Regions from separate parts of the Homo sapiens genome. Here region 1 is linked to region 2. Evidence: promoter capture Hi-C in 16 types of primary human blood cells and fetal thymus (Javierre and others, 2016). All regions are on one chromosome and are shown on one strand. The core of a region is centred on a gene start or on the middle of the fragment in contact, and the rest is flanking DNA. Distances in the headings are between cores, read along the strand shown.

What was found. The method cuts DNA at HindIII sites, captures the fragments that hold promoters and counts their contacts. A CHiCAGO score of 5 or more calls a contact.
Region 1: a fragment that was not itself captured here is called in contact with the fragment with the promoter of CACFD1 in region 2 in 1 of 17 cell types (M1 macrophages); the score reaches 5.5 in M1 macrophages.

The regions. Positions count from the first base shown.
Region 1 is chr9:133,179,655-133,183,152 of GRCh38, reverse strand. No RefSeq gene overlaps it. Among named protein-coding and RNA genes, the nearest start is that of GBGT1, 17 kb to the right of the region's middle. The HindIII fragment of the contact is 1,175 bases long and covers 1,363-2,537 here.
Region 2 is chr9:133,457,641-133,461,416 of GRCh38, reverse strand. CACFD1 (calcium channel flower domain containing 1) reads right to left here and starts at 1,439. Exons shown (of 5, transcript NM_017586.5): 1 at 1,230-1,439. The coding sequence starts at 1,350. It overlaps ADAMTS13 (ADAM metallopeptidase with thrombospondin type 1 motif 13), which reads right to left. Exons shown (of 29, transcript NM_139027.6): 28 at 3,323-3,507; 29 at 2,031-2,443. The coding sequence ends at 2,237. RefSeq lists silencers at 924-1,223, 1,514-1,613, 1,624-1,843 and enhancers at 3,676-3,776, 3,494-3,776. The HindIII fragment of the contact is 16,509 bases long and covers 1-3,776 here.

The DNA.
Region 1 (3,498 bases), core at 701-3,200, 280 kb after region 2:
TGTCATTTCTGATTTTAGTAATTTGAGTCTTATCTCTTTTTTTCTTAGTCAACTAGCTAAAGGTTTCTCAATTTTGTTAACCTTTCATGGAAGGAACATGTTTTCACTGATTTCCTCTAGTGCTCCTCTCTCCTCTATCCCATTTATCTCTGCTCTAATCTTTATTATTTCCTTCCATCTGCTAACTTTATGGGGTTGGGGGGGTTTTTTGTTTGTTTGTTTGTTTGTTTGCTTTACGACAGGGTCTCACTCTGTGACCCAGGCTGGAGTACAGTGGTGCCATCTTGGCTCACTGCAGCCTTGATCTCATGGACTCAAGCTATCCTGCCACCTCAGCCTCTCAAGTAGCTGGGACCACAAGCACATGCTAATTTTTTAAATTTTTTATAGAGACAGGGTTTCACCATCTTGCCCAAGCTGGTCTTGAACTCCTGAGCTCAAGCAGTCCTTCTGCCTCAGCCTCCCACAGTGCTGGGATTACAAGCATGAGCCACCATGCCTGCAAGGGCATCTTCTAATCAACCCCTGGCACCAACCAGGGCTTCCCTTCCTAGGGTCTCACCTGCAGAGTGGCTAAGCACTTACAGACGGGAGTGGACAAAGCCATCCAGACACCCTCCACCCACCTGTCAGCCCAGGCCACCTCCAGATTCCAGTTTCACACAGAACCTGTCCTGCTGCTGGGCAGGACACCTCCTGGTCACCAGGCTGACCTGGCCTCTGTGGACTACTCACTGCCTTAGGTGCCTTTTGCTCCCCAGGATCCAAAGGAGTAGCTGACTTTTTCCAAGGAGCACTGCCCATGGGGACGGAGCCCTGACACCAAAGGGACGGCTGCCCTCTGTGCGCTTCCCTCACACTTTCCCAGATATGAGTCACAGCCACCTGTGCCAACGAGCACCCTTAGAACACCCATTCACCCAGCAGGTGTGACCGCTGCAAAGCTGAACCTTCCATCTGGCCACCAGGCCCCCAGCATGGAGCCTGGGACCAGCAGCAGCCCCTACTCCAAGGCTGGAACCAGCTCAGATGCAACCCTCTCAATCCAAGGAGTCTGGGACTCCACATTCTGGGACTCCAGCTAATTTTATGCATAAAAATTATGGGCCCAGAACTTGTGCATTTTTAGAAAAATGGGTTAACCTAACTAAAGAAAACTTAGAATTAAGATGGCTGCAATGGGGAAGTTTTAATTTGGATAAAATTGTTTATTTATGAGGCATATTAGAAAAGGGGGAATGAAAAACCCCATAAAACAGTGGGATGTGTATTCTTTTATTGGTATGCAGAAGCCCCTAAAAGAGTAAATGAATCAAAAATTGACTCCTTAAAAGATTCTTTGCAAAAAGCAAACGAAAAGCTTAAGCAACAAACTAACGACATGATGAAAGAGGACTGTACTGTGACTGACCTCATCCTGACTGTTCCTTCTCTTTATCCTTCTCTACCTACATACTCTGAGTCCACTAACCTTTTTGCTAAATTACCCTTTCAGGCCAGGCTTGGTGGCTCATGCCTATAATCCCAGCACTTTGGGAGGCCGAGGTGGGTGGATCACCTGAGATCAGGAGTTTGAGACCAGCCTGGCCAATATGGTGAAACCTCGTCTCTACTAAAAATACAAAATTAGCTGGGCGTGGTGCTGCGTGCCTGTAATCCCAGCCACTCGGGAGGCTGAGGCAGGAGAATTGCTTGAACCCAGGAGGCAGAGGTTGCAGTGAGCCGAGATCATACCACTGCACTCCAGCTTGGGTGACAGAGTGAGACCCTGTCTCAAAAAAATAAAAAATAAAAAATATGTATATATTACCCTTTCACCCTGAAGACGATTAAAAAAATAATAATAAGTTAGACAGGCACCTTACAAAGTGAGACTTTCTGATCAGTCATGCCTGCCTGCTGTAACTACTTTCACTCCATGGTCTAAAACTGAGCTTAGAGCCATTGTGAGGGACTTGCCTGATCCAAGAGAAAATCCTCAAAAATTTACTGAGGAATTTAGAATCCTCATAGGAGCTTATGATCCAGGACTTCCTGACCTTCACTAATGTATTCCCGTGATATTGGGGCCTGGTAAAGCTCGGAAATGGACGGCAGCAGCAGAATGGGGCAAACCTGAGGAGGATGTTAAAGACCCCTCCAAAAGCTCCTCACAAGAAGGACCAAAAGTCGCTGGAAAAATTGCTGAAAACCTTTTAAATTCAATTCCTAAAATTTTTCCGCAAAAAATGGACTGGTCCATCATACAATCTTGTAAACATAACAAAAAAAAAGATTTCAGTTTCAGATTACAGAACTCACTTAGAAATGCTGTTTGTGAAACATTCTGGGATCCAAGTACAACAAGAAGTATTTCCTGCAAGGACTGAAACGGCATTAAGTGCTCTATTTGTAAATGGACTCCATCCCGAACTCAGCAATTTAATTAAAATACATGAGTTGGGATAGGAAGTTACAGATATGACTAAATTGTTGGCCTTAGCTGGACATTTTGAGAGGACTCTAGAGCAAGAAAAAACTCAAAAGGCTAACAAGCTTATGGCCCTTCAGCTATAACAGTTACAGGGACCGGGACCCAAGGGATTAATCATTTTATGTATTTATTTAGAGACGGAGTTTCACTCTGTCACCCAGGCTGGAGTGCAGTGGTGAGATCTCGGCTCACTGCAACCTCCACCTCCCACGTTCAAGCGATTCTCATGCCTCAGCCTCCCAGGTAGCTGGGATTACAGGTGCGTGCCACCGTGCCCGGCTAATTTTTGCATTTTTAGTAGAGACAGCTTTTCACCATGTTGGCCAGGCTGGTCTCGAACTCCTGACCTCAAAAGATCCGCCCGCCTTGGCCTCCCAAATTGCTGGGATTACAGGCGTGAGCCACTGCGCTCTGCCTCCTTCTCATTTTAAATCACAATCAGGAGGTCCTAGAACAAGAAGTTCTTTGCCCCAAGATGTCTGCCTGTATTGCAAACAACCAGGGCACTGGAAAAGGGATTGTCCGCTTTTCTATCAGTCCACCAATGAGCCTCCCTTTCGGCCAAACTGTTTCACCACTAGAGGGAGCCCAAGAGACCTTAGGCCTCCTGATAATAATCAACCTTGATGAGGTTCCAAGGGATTCTCCAGTAGATTGCTCTCCGTGCCTTTAAATCAACGTGGAGAAACAGGTTAAAATAAATGGGGAGTTGTGTACAGTCCTCGGGGATATGGGGGCTACTCTATCTACCATAAACCCCACTTTAATAAGCCAACAAATCCCTTGGAGTAAAAAGGTCATTTCTGTGGTGGGGGTTTCAAATCAAGTTTAAGAGGTTCCCGTATCTGAACCAATCCAATTAGCTTTGGGCCCCTTTTCAGAAAAACACTTTTTTACTATGTTATACTGCTCCAGTAAACTTGTTAGGGCGAGATTTGCTTTCAAAGCTAAAAGGGCACATAAAATTTTTCTCAGGAGAAATAACCTTAGAGTTTCCTGATTCTCCTGGACTAGAATTGTTATGC
Region 2 (3,776 bases), core at 190-2,689:
CGTACTTGCCCTGAAGAGCAGTGACACAAACTCGGGGCCTTTTTGTGATTTGGGGGTAGGGCCTGCCCTACCGTATCCGTTGCCTCTGGATAAGGGCATGCCTAGCGAGGGCAGCACACTCCTAGCCCAGCACCCTCCTGCCTCAACCTCCCTCCACCCTCTACCCACCTGGAAAGGCTGTGGAACCCAAGGTGACCCTGAAAAGGTGGTCCTTCTGGCAGGATTGCTGATGGGGCCTGCCCTGCCCAGGCCCAGAGCTAGCCCTCTCTGCCAGGCAGGCACTGTTTAAAACCTGCAGACATCCTCGACAGACATTCTCTAAGACCTTGCCCACTCCAGTAATCCACAAGATTGAGGGCAGACAGGAAAGGAAAGGGTATCACTCAGACAGACTTGTCTTTCCCTGGAAGGCCAGCTGTACGGCTTCCATTCACTCCTGGAGCTGACCTGCCTCCCTCTTTGTCCTTTTCTGGCTGTGCTTAAGAGCCTAGCTTCCCTGGCAGCCTAAGGTCAGGGTCTGTGACTGGGATGCGTGCGGAGAAGGGGAGGAAGGCCGGTGACAGGCGGCTAAGGCAGCAGCAACGGGGGAGATATGAGAGCGGACAGAGGACCCAGGGAGAGGCCGGGCCCTCAGCTCACTGCCCCGCGGCCCCAGGGGCCACCTGTGCCCTGACACCACCTGACCCTCAGCAAACTTCCGCCCAGTGGCTTCCTGCCAGAAATCTAGCCAGCCGTGCACCCGCCTCCCTTACAAACAATCCTTGCCCAAAGGTTAGCAATGTGGCTGCCGTCACCTACGCCCAAGTCAACAGTTGACGCTTTAGTACGGGCCAGGTGGGCATGCGCCCCGTGAGCATCACCGAGAAAGTCTCACAAAAGCCCCTGGGGAGCGGGGGGAGGGCTCAGTCACGTGCCCCAGGCCGGTGCCCCACCCCCGCCCCCGCCGCCCCCCCGCCCTGGGGTTTCTGGTCCCTCCGGGAATGTTCCCAGAAGCGCCAGCCCAGCCCAGCCCGGGGTACCAAGGCGCCCAGGCCCGAGCGGGTAACCATGGCAACCCCAGGACGCCGGCTCCCGGCGGCCCCGCCATTCCTCCGCCCCGGGAGGCGCCCGGCAGACCCCCGACCCCCAGCGGGTCCTTTCCCCTGGGGCCGCCGGGGCGGGGCGGGGCAGGGCAGGGCGAGGAGCGCATGCGCGGCGGGGCCGGCCCCTCTCCCCGACTGGATACTCACAGACTGCCCCCAGCACCCCAGACAGGCGACACAGCCAGCGGTACCACCACGTCATGCCCTCTTCCTGCGCGGGCGGCGCAGAGCTGGCGGACGCCCCGGGCGCCCCACCTGAGCTGCTCATGGTGCCACCGTCAGGCGCAGCTCACAGCCCTCACAAAGGGCTCGGTAGCCGGCCGCGTCCGAGCCGGCGCGCTGCCTTGTGGGAGAGGGAGCATATTAGCATAGGGGGCGGGGCTTTCAGGCTGCGGCGAGGCGCGCCCGAAGGGAGGCGGGTGCTCATTAACATAGTGAGCGGGACCCTCATGCCGCGACTAGGGGCGTTTGAGGGGAGGTAGGTGCTCATTATTGTAGGGGGCGGGACCCGCAGGCTGCGGCGAGGAGCTGGGGGTGGGGAGCTCGTTAGCATACGGGGCGGGGCTCGCAGGCATCGGAGAGGTGTGCCCGAGGGGGGCGGGCGTCATTAGCGTAGGGGGCGGGGGCTCGCAGTTTGCGGCGACTTGCTCCCAAAGGAGGCGGGCGCTTATTAGCATAGGGGGCGGGGCCTGGAGGCGCGCAGACACCTTAGCGGTCAGAGCCTCACACCAGGACACACGGGTGGGGCTTCGCAGGGAGCTGGCTAATGCGCCATCCTCGGAGTGGAATCCTGATTGGATTTTCTTCCTGGATAGGAAGAAGATAACTAGGGACGTCCAGCGGCTTGCTCAGATCAAGATAGAGCCAACCGCGGCCAGCGAATCCCTGCCTTGCCATGGGATGGGTTTTCAAGCCAGGTCTGGACAGCTTATAAGAAAAAAACGCCGGTCAGCCTGCATGTTTTATTTATTGGTACCCGAGGAAATGGGGGCTGCTTTTCCAGAGTCCCCACCTCCAACCCCCTAGCCTTTTGGACATTGGAGAAGACTCTAAAGTAGATACCTAAGATTGGAAAAAGTTCGAATTGGAAAGCACTGAGACCAGGGGTCAACCCTCCAGGGCTGGCCAGACACGGAACAAATGTTCAATGACCCTCAGGTTCCTTCCTTTCCCTTCCAGGACTGAGGGTCCTGCATCTCCGGTACCCATGATTGGAGGGTCCAGTACTGGCCCCGCAGGCTGGCCTGAGCCTTCAGGAAGCCCTCGCTGAACTCCATCTCAGCCTGGCTGCTCTCTGACTCCCAGTAGAGCACCTGCTGCCCATGGAACGCTGTGGTCCTCAAGCTGTGGGTGTCCCGGATCTGAGAGAAAAGGGGCAGCCCAGAAGGACCGGCCACAAGTAATAATTAGCACTCACGGAAGCCTTCGTGTGCAAGGGCTCACAGATTCCGGATCACATTTAATGCTTACAAAGCCCTACTAGGAATACGCCATTACTCTACCCAGAAAACCGAGGTCCAGGGACGTTACATCACTTCCCCAAGGACACACAGTCAGGGTGCCAGAGCGGGGCCAGGCTGCCTCCTCTGGGGAAGCTGATACCCTGCAGAACACAGTTCTCCCAGGACACTTGAAACCTCGGGGAGGGTGCAGGGTGCTATTCTGTCCAAGTTATATCAGACTGTAAAATTATGCTTCAGTCTTGGGTTAGCTGTCAGTCTACATCAGAAAGGTCTTTACCATTCTTTACCATTTCGCTTTTTTTTTTTTTTTTTTTTTGAGACAGAGTCTCACTCTGTTGCCCAGGCTGGAGTGCAGTGGTGCGATCTGGGCTTAGTGCAACCTCCACCTCCCGGGTTCAAGTGATTCTTGTGCCTCAGCCTCCCAAGTAGCTGGGATTACAGGCACACGCCACCATGCCTGGCTACTTTTTCTATTTTTAGTAGAGACAAGGTTTCATCATGTTGGCCAGGCTGGTCTCGAACTCCTGACCTTGAGTGATCTGCCCTCCTGGGCCTCCCAAAGTGCTGGGATTACAGTTGTGAGCCACTATTTCACTCTTGTAGGTAGCTCAAAAAACATTTCTTGGTGAATATGTGGAGGAAGCTATCTTCTCCCATTCTTTCACTAATGATTTTGAGGGTTTTAGTCTGAAATAAACTGAAGGGGGTCCCCTAGCCCTGCACGCCCTAGGGAAAGCTGTCCAGAATCACAGCACAAGTCCCCATGCTGGGCCTCACCAAGATGTAGCTGGCATTGGCTCCCTCGGTCCCAGCGCCCATGTTGGTGGCCAGGGCATGGATGGCAATCCGTGCGTGCGGAGCCACATTAATGAAGAGCCGGCAGCCCCCTGCATTACTCGTGGCTGGACTCAGCGAGGGGCTCACGATTTCACCCCAGGGCCCAAAGAGCTGCATGTCACATTCTGCAGGTGGGACATAGGGACATAGGAACCCAGACAGACCGGTGGTGCCAGAGGCCAGGACAACTCACAGCCAGGGAGCCGTGCAGGGCAGCATGGCACTGTGGTCAATATTGGGGTTCCCAGGCAAATCCTGCTGAACCCCACCTCTACCACTTCCTGGCCCAGTGACTTTAGGCAAAGGCTAAATGTTCTGGGCTCTGGTTCCCTCCTCTGTAACTGAAGGAAACAATGGCATGCACTGAGCAGAGTGGTCTTTAGGACTCAATGAT